Linked DNA regions of Homo sapiens: region 1 is linked to region 2. Evidence: promoter capture Hi-C in human tissues and cell types (Jung and others, 2019). All regions are on one chromosome and are shown on one strand. The core of a region is centred on a gene start or on the middle of the fragment in contact, and the rest is flanking DNA. Distances in the headings are between cores, read along the strand shown.

Region 1 (6,375 bases), core at 428-2,927, 680 kb before region 2:
TGGTCAGGTTTTCTTCTTGTTTTCCAAGGTAAGATTACTTCCCCTTTGGCATTAAAAGGGAAACTAGATCAGTTGTGCGAAAAACCAAAAAAGATGTATTTTATCAACTTGAAACTTATCCCAAGGCTTCCTCTCACACTGTGTTAAATAATAGGTCTTCTTAATTGAATTTCTTTGTGTGTAGCATATGCTGGGTGACATTACGCCAGCATCTTGCTCTAAGCAGCAAAACGTTCTTCATAAAAGCATTAAGATCCTGAGTATCATTCTGGATGTAGGAAAGGGACACAGAACTACAACAACTTGAAAGCATATAAAAACAGTGCCTCTGAATTGTGATTGTAAAAACACACTGAAGCAAACCAGGAGGAAAATATTTAGAATTATAGAATGAAACCAGAAGAAGAAGAATAGGAAGAAAAGGAGAGAGGAAGATGGGAGGGTGGGATGGGTGAAGAGAGAGAGGAAAGCAGTGTGGTGCAATGCTGTCTGTAGAATCAAAGCAATGATGACTTTCTGTTTCCTAGCATTCCATCTAAAACAAGCAGATCTATATATTCATTTCCCTTTGACAGCCACCATCCTACAGAGGTGGGATTATAAATGGATGTGTTGTGAACCAGGGCGATAACTATGTCTGTAATAACACATGCTTATGTTCTTTATCCCAAGGATCCTGGAGCTTCAGCAGAATGGTGACATGGACATCCTGAAGCACAAATGGTGGCCTAAGAATGGCCAGTGTGACCTGTACTCGTCAGTGGACACAAAGCAGAAAGGAGGCGCCCTGGACATAAAGAGCTTTGCAGGGGTCTTTTGTATCCTGGCTGCTGGAATTGTCCTCTCCTGCTTCATAGCCATGCTGGAGACGTGGTGGAACAAGAGGAAAGGCTCCCGGGTTCCATCAAAAGAGGTACTTGATTGAGAGATTTGGCTCTAAATTGAATCAACAAGCAGGCTGTATTTCCAGGGAGGACCATCCCAGGGAGGATAATGGGTTGGGGGTGGTCCTTGTTTTTTCGTTTCTTGAAGATTAAAAATAAAGTTGTGAAATATAAAAATTGGTAAGATCAATATCAATTTCCATTTTAGGATATCCCCAGATCAGTGAAGAGGAGACTATAGTGTTTGAAAGACTTAGAAATTCATATACCATAATGGGCTTTGAAATTCTCTCAAATCTCAGAATAGATTTTAATTCAGTGATTTTTAAAGGCCATGATTCCTTTGACCAGTTCACAGAGATACTTACCATTTTGTTTCACTTAGTTGTTTAACTTGTAAGTAAATTCCTCGTATCTCTAAGACTAGCCCCCCAAAAATACAATACTGTAATAAAAATGATCAGAATTTTCTCTTCACCACTAGTGACTGCCTCCTTCTCTACTCATGTAGACCTATAGAAGCTCTTCGATGGCCCCAAGCTTATCAAATCCAAAATCCACATCATGAAAACATCCAAATTTCAATGTTTCTCCTTTACTGTGGAGTCAGCTTCACTTCAGGGCCATATTAAATTTTATCTCAATATCTGAAAGAATAATTACAGAATTACACATATCTCTTTTATAGTGGCCTGAGCATTGTTTTCATCAAGAAGTATGAGACTTATAAATTAAAGAAAATCTGAAGCTAAATCTTGATTAATTTATCTTATTTCCATTGGACTAAAGGGGTGAAAATGTTTTAACTGATGAAGTCATATTCACTAAAGCTTCACAAATTGAAACAAAAACCAATCTGAATTTGCTAAACAATTTTATGTGATGGATAGCTTCAAAGAAACTTTTAAAGTTTCTATAACTAGAACTTGGCTGACTAACTGATGCCTGAGGCAACTCCTGAAAGGATCTACTTTAATGCACAATAAATACGGCTTCTCATTTGCATATGAATTGTTGCACATTAATGTGTTTTTTTCAAACAGGGTGATTTCAAAAGTAGTGTAAGGATTCCTTCTTATCACCTTATATGCAAAATTGATCAGCAGCATTTATAAGGAAAAGCTTGGCTTTAGCAAAGATGAATTTTAGCTTCCTACCTGTGTGAATGAGCATACATTCTAAATATGTGAAGAATGAATTATAAATTAATCAAGTCACATTGTAGTGTTTTCTTTGTGGAATAAGCTTCTGGTATCTCCGTTGACATTGATTCAATGCAAAAGACCACATTAATGCAACATTATAGCTGAGACTCATATTTTTAAAAATCTGGAAAGTAAGGACTCCCCAAGCTCCTTATATTTTGAATTACTCTATATGATATTAAAATTTTGCATTATTATATCTGTTGATGGATGACTACATTACAGTTGCTGTGGGAACCATAAAATTATATGTCTCAATCCTCTAAAGTCTCAGTGATAATATTGCATTAATGGATATTTTTTATTGAATTTTGAAATAAGAAGGGAGAAGGAAAAACAGTGATGCACATCAAAATATTTTTCACTGAGGAACACTATAATAGCACAATGAAAAAAATACATGCTCCATTCTAACTTGTGACAGCTAATCCAGATCCTATGAAAAAATATTTTCTCCTCTTATGATTAATAGATATCTTAAATTCTCATAAATTTAATTTATTGAGTTTGGCTGTAAATAAGACTAATAACAAGGATAATTTTATTTCCTTCCAGTTTTATTTCTCAAATATTGGGCGTTAATACTCACTTTTAGTGAAAAATATAAGGAACTTATCAATGGGTTTCAATTCCAAAAATCTGAGATTTTACTTATATTTTTGTTTATTAACTGCCTTCTTACCAAGACGCCATTAGCATAGCTTAAAACGTCTTTGGTTTTGAGGTCAGTTAGCATAAAGCTGGCCCTAAACTAAAGCTATCACTCACGTGCCCTGACTTGAAGGGGTCCCTAAATATCTCACTGACCTCACAGTATTGACTGATTCAGGTGCTAGATACCTTGAGTGCATAAATCCCTCAATTAGAAATTATTTTGTGTTGAGTATTGCTCTCTCTAAACAATCGCACATATCCTTGGCTTACAAGGAATAACACTTTAACAGTCACTAACACTTCAGTATGAAATAGCTTACTATATCATTTTTTTCAAGAATGGAAACTTAAGTTTAGGAGTAAGTGGTTGAAAGGAACAAAAATTTAACTTGGAATGAGACGCCCTGAAAAGGGAGGAAGCATGTATAAAGAAGAGGTGGGGGGTAGAGTTGCCAAAACCATACTTTCTATTGTTACAATTTTGCCTGGGTCTGTCTTTTATAGAATGGCAATCACCCATCAACTGCTTACATATCTTTGTAGTTGCATGTGGCATATGATCACTTTAAAACCTTTACTGCAAGAAAAATATTTATTGTAGATAATCTTATCTCAGAATTGGAATCCCCCAGAACTTAGCACAGTGCCTGGCTCATACTAGGTGCTCAATAAATATTTGTTAAATGAATAAACCCCAAAGTTCAGTTAATTACATGTTTGCTGAACTACTTTTTTTTTTTTAACCATCAAAGCTAGTACTGATGAGAACCTTATTTTCTTTTTCTTCATCTCCAGGATGACAAGGAAATTGACCTGGAGCACCTCCATAGACGTGTAAATAGCTTGTGCACAGATGACGACAGCCCCCATAAACAGTTTTCCACCTCGTCAATTGATTTGACCCCTCTGGACATTGACACTTTGCCAACACGACAAGCACTGGAGCAAATCAGTGATTTCAGGAACACTCATATTACCACAACAACCTTTATCCCAGAGCAGATCCAGACTCTTAGCCGCACACTGTCAGCTAAAGCTGCTTCTGGTTTCACTTTTGGCAACGTGCCTGAGCACCGAACTGGCCCTTTTAGGCACAGGGCACCTAATGGGGGCTTTTTCAGGAGTCCTATAAAAACAATGTCATCTATTCCTTATCAACCAACTCCTACCCTGGGGCTCAATCTGGGTAATGATCCAGACCGAGGCACCTCCATATGAGCATCAAACAAATCTCTTCACTGTTTCTTTTTTAGGACTCCCTTTGCAAGGAGCAACTGTAATATTGTGGGACTAACATGGATGTAACGTTTAAAAAAAAGATCAGGATTATTAGTAACAATTCTAGTTTTTTCCTCCCACCTTCTCCCTCTCCTCTCTCCTCTATGATTTTCTCTCTTTCCCCCTCCCTTCCTGTACATTTTCCTCCACTTTTTTTCATTACTCAACTTGTTCCCCAAGAAGGTAGTGTACTAGGATCCTATTAGTCTGCTTTTCATATACTGTACATCAAGTATAGGAAATGTGCACTGAGTATACTAAAAGTATATGCAGGATTAATTTTACATAAAGGCCTCTTCTGTAACATTTCTCTATTTTTTGAAATACAATTGCAATAACTTCAGTCTTTTTACATTCTTCTGCTGCATCCATACAATGCTCCACTGCTGTTGAGTGTCCTTTAACTGTGGACCAAAGGCAACCCCTGCAGTGTTTATAAAACAATTTTAAGACCATTCAGGCCACATAAGATGAGAATGCAATTTTGTAGGATTACAAAAAAGCCATTAATATGCCAGTCAAGACTACAGTTAAAACTACTCTTGCACTGCAACAGTGCATATGACCTTTATGTGATTGTACAGTATTAAAAGTTTTTTCTTATGTACAGTAAACTTTATCATATGGCAGAAGCCTCTATTGTGTTAAATAAATTAGTATTTCATATATATACATATATATGCACCTATATAATGTGTATATATATAAAAAGGCAGCCATTGCTATTGCAATTCATTTAATAAAGCTTTAGTTTAAACAAAAGTATTGTATACAGGAACTATGTATAGTGCAGGGGTTCTTTTCAGTTAGAAAAGGCAGGTTGCTTTAATGTTATTCTGACTCGCATTGTTTGCCAACAGAAAATATTTTATACTTTTGTTATTAAAGCATCCAGGGCAATTTAATATTTGTTCCTAGATGTAACTCATTTGAATAGGTTTTGCATTTGTTATTCAGCAGTGTATAAAGCTAACCTTGATAATTTTACTTTTAATTAATTATCTAAATGAAAAATGCTATTAGCTGAACCACATCCACAACAGCACATAGAGCTCTAGAAGAGTTGAAACATAGATCATTGAAGGTTAAAAATCCTCTTCCAAAGCAGCAAGTCAATCAATACAATAATGATATTTGGGGAGGGGTGGGAGCCCTTAAGAACTATTGATGTGGCCTTAAATTACTGTCATTTATTATCCTAAAGAAGAAAACATAATAACCATAATGGGCTCTCAACTCAACTCCCTTTTTTATTTAGTTCTATTTGGAGGAGTTATGTATTTTTTACATTAGTGCCAAGTATATAGAAGGATGACAGCAAAAACAGTGCCTCTTTGTGCACAATCCTTTTAAAGTAGCATTCTTACTTGTTAGAAATGTAGAATGAACTTTGTTTGTAATCCTTAAATTAAAATGTGGTAAGTAGGAAGCAAGAACTTATTCTGTGTTTTTACGCAGCCATACACTTACTTTAATCTAACTCATTCTGTGGCTAGGATTGATATAGGAATCAACCTATGTGATTTGCTTTAGGAGAAATTAAAAGGTATATTCTTAAGATATATTATATTTTGATGCTAATTCTGTTCTGGGGAGCATCTTGTATTGTCACTGTTTTGTACTAAATCTTCAAATATTGTCTACTGTGTAAGGCAGAAAAATTTCTTATCATGCAAAAACCATTTTGTTTCCAGGGTAACAAGTAACTAAGTGCATGCACAACTTGTTTTCCCTTGTAACATTCATGATCTCATTTACAACTCTGATTTTAAAACAAAAAAATCTTTACAACAAGCTATATAGGGACATACCAGATGTTGCAGTGATTTTAGCTATCAACAAACTGTTAACCATGTACAATATTTAAAATAGGCTTATTTTGATGTATCGCCTATTATACAAACACACAAAACATTTTTGGAGGCCTCAGTTATGAGTGACAGAGCTTTCTGTGTATAATTTGTCTAAATAATTTGTCTAATAAAAATGTTTTCTAAACTTGCTCTCATACTATTGAAGTCTTAACTGTAAGATTTGAAAATGTTTACTCTCTCACAGATTGAACTAAATTTTTCTAAAAATTTATCTTGAGTTAATTAAAGCATAAATCACATTAAGTTTTACTGGCAGAACTATGCCAAAATGAATGGCTCTCTAAAACATTACTAAGTGATGTCTTAAACCAATGAGAGACTGCCTTTCTGCTATTTGAGACTATTTGAACCAACAATACATTTGTTTTTCTCTGTGGATGTCTCTGTGAGCACTTTTTTGGGAAAGATTTATCCTGTTTCATGTAAGCAATGCAACCATTATGATAATATCAGGATGAGGGTGTGTTACATCAAAAAAAA
Region 2 (5,910 bases), core at 854-3,353:
CAAGATCATAGTTCACTGCAGCCTCGAACTTCTGGGCTCAGCAATACAAATAGCTGGGACCTGGGACTACAGGCACACTACACGACGCCCAGCTAATTTTTTGGATTTTTTTAGAGATGGGTCTTGCTATGTTGCCTAGGTTAACCTCAAACTCCTGCCCTCAAGCCATCTTCTCACCTCAGCCTCCCAAGTGCTAGGATTATAGGTGTCAGCCACTGCACCCTGCTCACGTAAGTAATTTTAAATTATCTAGTGGCCACATTTTTTTTAAAAAGTGAAATTAATTTTAATCAAATATTATTATTATTACTCTTTTTTTTTTGGTGCGGAGTCTTGCTCTGTCGCCCAGGCTGGAGGGCAGTGGCATGGTCTCGGCTCACTGCAACCTCTACCTCCCGGGTTCAAGTGATTCTCCTGCCTCAGCCTCCCAAGTAGCTGGGATAACAGGCATGCGCCACCACACCCGGCTAATTTTTGTATTTTTAGTAGAGACGGGGTTTCGCCATGTTGGCCAGGCTGATCTTGAACTACTGACCTCAGGTGACCCACCCGCTTCAGCCTCCCAAAGTGCTGGGATTATAGGCGTGAGCCGTCGCGCCCGGCCATAATCATGTATCATTTAACAAAACATAAAATATGATGATTTCAGCATATAATCAATATAAAAATTATTGAGGCATTTTACATTATTTTTTCATACCAAGTCGTCGAAATCCAGTGTGCATTTTACACTTCCAACGCATTTCAATTTGGGCATTATATTTTCAACTTTAGTCCTTAAATGTAGTGCTTAAAAGAAATGTTAACGACCTGGCGCGGTGGCTCATGCCCGTAATCCCAGCACTTTGCGGGGCCGAGGCGGGTTGGTCACCTGAGGTCAGGAGTTCGAGATCAGGCTGGCCAACATGGTGAAACCCCATCTCTACTAAAAATACAAAAAATTAGCCGGGCGTGGTGGCGCACGCCTGTAATCCCAGCTACTCAGGAGGCTGAGGCAGGGGAATCGCTTGAACCCGGGAGGTGGAGGTTGCAGTGAGCCGAGATTGCACCACTGATCCCAGCCTGGGAGACAGAGCAAGAATCCGTCTCAAAGAAAAAAAAAGTAAAGAAATGTTATCCTGCTTCAGTTTTAAATGTTAAATTATTTAAAATTACGTAAAACAAAAAATTCATGGTCTCAGTTACAGTAGCCACATTTCAACTGTTCGATAGCCACATGTGGCCAGTGGCTACCGTTAGGGAAAGAGCAGCTTTGGATCTTCGCCTTTGGAATTTTGCTTGCACTTCTGGGGGCCGGGGAGCTCACGGACCTCATGAAGTTCATCCTTGCTTTATATGCTCCTTGGTTAAGAATTGTCCTTTTCACGTTTTATAAGCCAATTCACAGTGTAACAGTCTAGTTACTTTCCGTATGTTCAGTGAACATTATTCACGTTTTCTTATGAATAAATTCCTCGGGCGTATCAAGCAACCCTATAGAAGGCTGGAAAGTGGACTATTGATTTGGATTTAGAAAAATAAACTGAAGATACAGTGGTTGAATCACTTTTGGCCGCTTTTATGTATCACTGTCTTCTGGTGTGATGGACAGGGTTAACTTCTGTTAGGGTTACTGGTTTTCACCTTCCTGACAGGTAAACTTCTGGGTCTGCACTTTTCAGAGCATGTAAAGCTCTTTCAAAAAAAAAAACGCAGGCAGTAACCGCTGAACTTGCATAGATAGAGATTTATCCAAAGTACCCTTCTATTTTTAGGCAGAGCAACTGCTTGCCAATTTAAATTTCTGGAGAGAAAAATGCACCCACTACAAAACGGACGAGCGGAGGGTTAGACCTTTGCCAGGTAGCGCTCAAAATCCGCTAAGACTACTCCCACCGAAACTCGGTAGCGCAGTTGTCTTTCCGCAGCTGCTTCAGCCAGCCCCAGCAAGCCCGAGCGCCCGGCGCCGCCGCCACCTTCCCCGCCCCTGCGCGGCGCGGCTGGGACTGGCCCAGAGGCGTGGCCGGGAGCGGAGGGGCGTGTCCTGGGTCGGGGGTGGGGCGAGGGAGAGCCAGGAGGCGGAAGTTCCCGCGGGCGGTGGGGACGGCGCCCTCACCGCGAGTCACTTGTCAGCCCTTGTCTGAGGCGGAGGCAGCCCCGCGCCGCGCCGGACCCGAGGTGAGTGGCGGCCGGCCGGCGATGCGCCTCTCGGATCTCCGGTGGGAGAAGGGAAAGAACCGGCCGCTGTGCGCCGAACGCGAGAAGGGAAGCCCGGTTGGGGACGAGGAGGGGGCGCTCCTCGGGCAGGGATGGCTCCTCAGGTGCTTTCTGGGCGCGGAGCGGCGGAGGTGGGAGAGCAGCTTGGGAAAAGGAGCGCCCGGAAAAGGGCAGCGCTGGAGTCCGCATGAGGCCAGAGGGCGAGCCCTGGGGTCCCCGCAGCCCGGGCCGACCGGGACCAGCGTAGCGGAGACGGGGACGCGGGAGGGCGCCCGGAGGTGGCGAGGGCCGGCAGGGACGGGCACTGCCGCTCCCACCCACCCGGCTGCCGGCGTCGCCCGGCACCACCGTGGTGTGGTGTCTGAGTGCCCAGTCCTGCGCCAGTCTCTTGGAGGGTAGGAAGCGGGACTCAAAGGAAAAGGCGCGTTAGTTTTTCTTTGCTCCCAGGCTACTGAGAAGCATTTATTTCTCCCCCAGATATTTACAGTTTTGTGTAACCTGTTTGGGGAAAACTTCTGCGCGTCCAGAAATAAAGCTCGTTTAAGAAACACATTTGTCATGAACACGAGATTTGTTAACACTTGAGTACTTGTTGGGGCTTTTGTAAGACTGTGCCTTCGGTGCGTTTTACAATAAGTGGAAAAAGGAAGGGCGTGTGGACAGGGCAGAGCTTGGAAGGAAAATTCGTGGCGGCGCTGGGCAGGGCAGATTTAGGGTGTGATCGCCAGATCCTATCCCAAGTCCGCCTTCCTGACGGGGAGGACGTCTGAACCCGCCTGCCACGGAAACGGCCCGTTCGGTAGCCTTATTTGGCCAACAAGGCTAGGCGCGAATCCCTCCTGGAAAACTGTCCTGTCGGCTGCTTTCATCCTGTGCCTGTGGCTTTAGTTCTTCAGCTCTACCTACATTCTCTCTCCATTGCGGGGAAAGAGAATCTCAAGATATTTCTCTTTAATTTCAGGCCTTTTTTTTTGTCACTCTGTGTAGTTCATCTTGAGTTCTCCTTTCTCCCCTCTCACCCACTAATGAAGCTGAGATACAAGTGTGGGAAATACCAAGCTTCCTTCCCTAGTACTAGAGCAAAGACATTGTTTAGACTTTCCCTAAAAGAAAATCCATAACTCTACAGAAATTCCAACCTTTTCGACGTGTTTGAAAGAGTATGCTGCTATTTCCTGCCTGCTTGGTATTTGAGGAAGGGCTTGGGCACTAATAACCAGATGGAGGAGTCTTGGAAAGGCCAATAAAAATATTGCCATTGCTTGGGGCAGAGACTGTTTTAAGGCAGATGAATTCCAAATGAAGCTAGCAGAAGAAGCATCTAGAAATGAACGGACAGTGACTAGAAATGAAATGACACTGGTTTTGTAGTGTGGCTGTGACCTTGCCAGTGCTAGGAATTTTAATAACAAATGAGAGAAGTTAGGAAGGGAATCCCCAAGTAAAGGGAAGTTGCAAGTACATGGGTTGATAATCTAAATGAAATACATTTTCTTGTAGGGAAGAATGGGGCCAGAGGAAGTTGAGCCCAACTTTCATATTATTCCCCAGACACAAGTTAAAGATTAATAAAGGAGGGCAGGCTGCCTGTGAAATATCAGTTGGCTTTACACGATTCTGATTTGTATCGTGTCAATATCAGGACAGTCCTTCTATTAGTTTTCTGAAAATCTCCTCCTTTTATAGCGGGAAAGCAATTGAATTATGTGTGGCTCGTTATTAGCTTCCCACTAGTAGTTTTTCACCTATATATACAGTTTGACTTCCGGCTTGGCCTTTGGATCTTTTTTAGTGCTCTGTGCCTATTACTTCATTACTGAAGTAATGTGTTATTGCCTTGTAGTTCAGTATACTACCACGCCAGTAGAAAAGCTGTTTCGGTTTCTGATACAATTTTCTGTAATTTTTATTTTCCCTGATATAATTTTTCTTTAAAAACCAGGCTTATTTGAATGTTTTGCCCCATTTTCCCTTTATGAGAAGAAGGAATGTTTGCTTTAAATATACCTATGGCTCAAATATCTATATCTGCAACTATGAATTTGGGGTGATGGGCTAGAAATTTTGAATGGGTTAAAACATATTTTAAGACAGGTAATATTAGGTGGTGATTTGGTTGAATAGCTTACATTTTCCAAGGAAGTATGTTTTTAATATAAAATTACATATCTGTTATGTTTTTAATATTTTTTAAAGAGAGAGAATTATTGTTTCTTAGTATTCCATTAAAACAAAAGAAAACTTCATTCCTCTGTCTCCTGCCGTTATAACAACCAATAGGAAACTCGAAGTTTTTTTTTTTTTTTTTGCTTTTTAAAAATTATATGAAAGTACTACTAGGAGAGTCATCACACGCACACTTAACAGCAGAACAGACAAAAGAAAGCACCGAAGCACTGGTTCTTTTCTAAACTGCCAATTCCATTTGAATGCATTAACCCAGCACTTTTGCTGTATTTAGTCATAATCTTATTCACTGAGTGGCAAATGCTTACTCTCTGCCTGGTGAGGTGTGTGTATAAAACAAAAAGCAGGTTGTGACTAACATCACTGTACTAGAGTATTGCCTATCGTTGACTATCTGAAGGAAAAGTAGATATCACTTTAAGTGTGGAAAATACCATGTCCCCATAGGAGGAAATACAAGTTGTAGTTCATGATTGGAGAGAATAGTTTTGTGCATTGAAAAACAGCTTCTCATTGTAAAGAATTTAGTATTTGGAAAGCATGAATGGGAGCCTACTGATTTGCAGTCTCTTTCACATGTTAGAGTAACTTAGAATTTAAGTAAGTGCAGTTGAAAGACTCTTGTCAATTGCAGACAAAAGAATACATGAAGTGGAGGGAAGGAGAAAATTATTCTGAATTCAACCTGAAATAAAATCTTGCTACATTAGTGAAGTATTGTAAAGTACTTTGAGTTAAACTTTGCATGCAAGAAGCCACAAAATTGGATTGAAGCAAGTTGTGAAACATACTAAGTGTCTAGAAATGTATTCTGATATGGAATTTTTAGACCATGGAAATTGCCATGAGTGTAGAAAATTTATATTAGCTCACAGATTGCTTTTCTTAAACTGAAATTAATGAAGAACTTAATTAAGACTTATCTTCTATATCCTCTCACCCCCCTCAAACAAAATACTAAACATAATTTATGTTCTAGGGTTTCAAGTAAACATTTTTGCTAATCATCTGATTTTCTTTCACAGCATATTTCATTTTCTGTCATTGGACTTTGAGCCATTAGAACCATGAGCAACTACAGTGTGTCACTGGTTGGCCCAGCTCCTTGGGGTTTCCGGCTGCAGGGCGGTAAGGATTTCAACATGCCTCTGACAATCTCTAGTGTAAGTAAACTTTACAAATTTTATTATAGATGTTCATTCAGTGCTTAGTCCTCGGGCTGAGTTGTTTAATTCTCTGTTGACCTGTACTCTACTTATTATCATTGCTCCTGGGATTTGATCTTGGCAAATTTGATTATCTATAATAAAGGATGAGGGGAGTAGATTTAGCAAGGATAACTGACTTCAATTTAACTTCTTTTCGTTTTCCCCCATGTTATCAATAATAAAATGGAAAAAGCATTTAACTAGGAACAGACTGTACATTTTTGAACTGTCCCTAATTTGGGGAATTCTCTGAATCTTCGTTCTTTCATATATAATTTTCAAAGGTTGTGCTATGGGATTTTAATAATCTCTTTCAGTT

Evidence for each region. Contacts are between HindIII fragments. The study calls those that stand out against the background at their distance.
Region 1: a fragment that was not itself captured here is called in contact with the fragment with the promoter of PDLIM5 in region 2 in 1 of the 25 tissues and cell types used here (lymphoblastoid cells).

What each region holds. Positions count from the first base shown.
Region 1 is chr4:93,768,538-93,774,912 of GRCh38, forward strand. It overlaps GRID2 (glutamate ionotropic receptor delta type subunit 2), which reads left to right. Exons shown (of 16, transcript NM_001510.4): 15 at 673-913; 16 at 3,539-6,029. The coding sequence ends at 3,961. Among named protein-coding and RNA genes, the nearest start is that of ATOH1, 57 kb to the right of the region's middle. The HindIII fragment of the contact is 3,540 bases long and covers 1-3,447 here.
Region 2 is chr4:94,449,839-94,455,748 of GRCh38, forward strand. PDLIM5 (PDZ and LIM domain 5) reads left to right here and starts at 2,104. Exons shown (of 13, transcript NM_006457.5): 1 at 2,104-2,157; 2 at 5,409-5,546. The coding sequence starts at 5,451. RefSeq lists silencers at 1,754-2,173, 2,344-2,603. The HindIII fragment of the contact is 5,884 bases long and covers 1-4,729 here.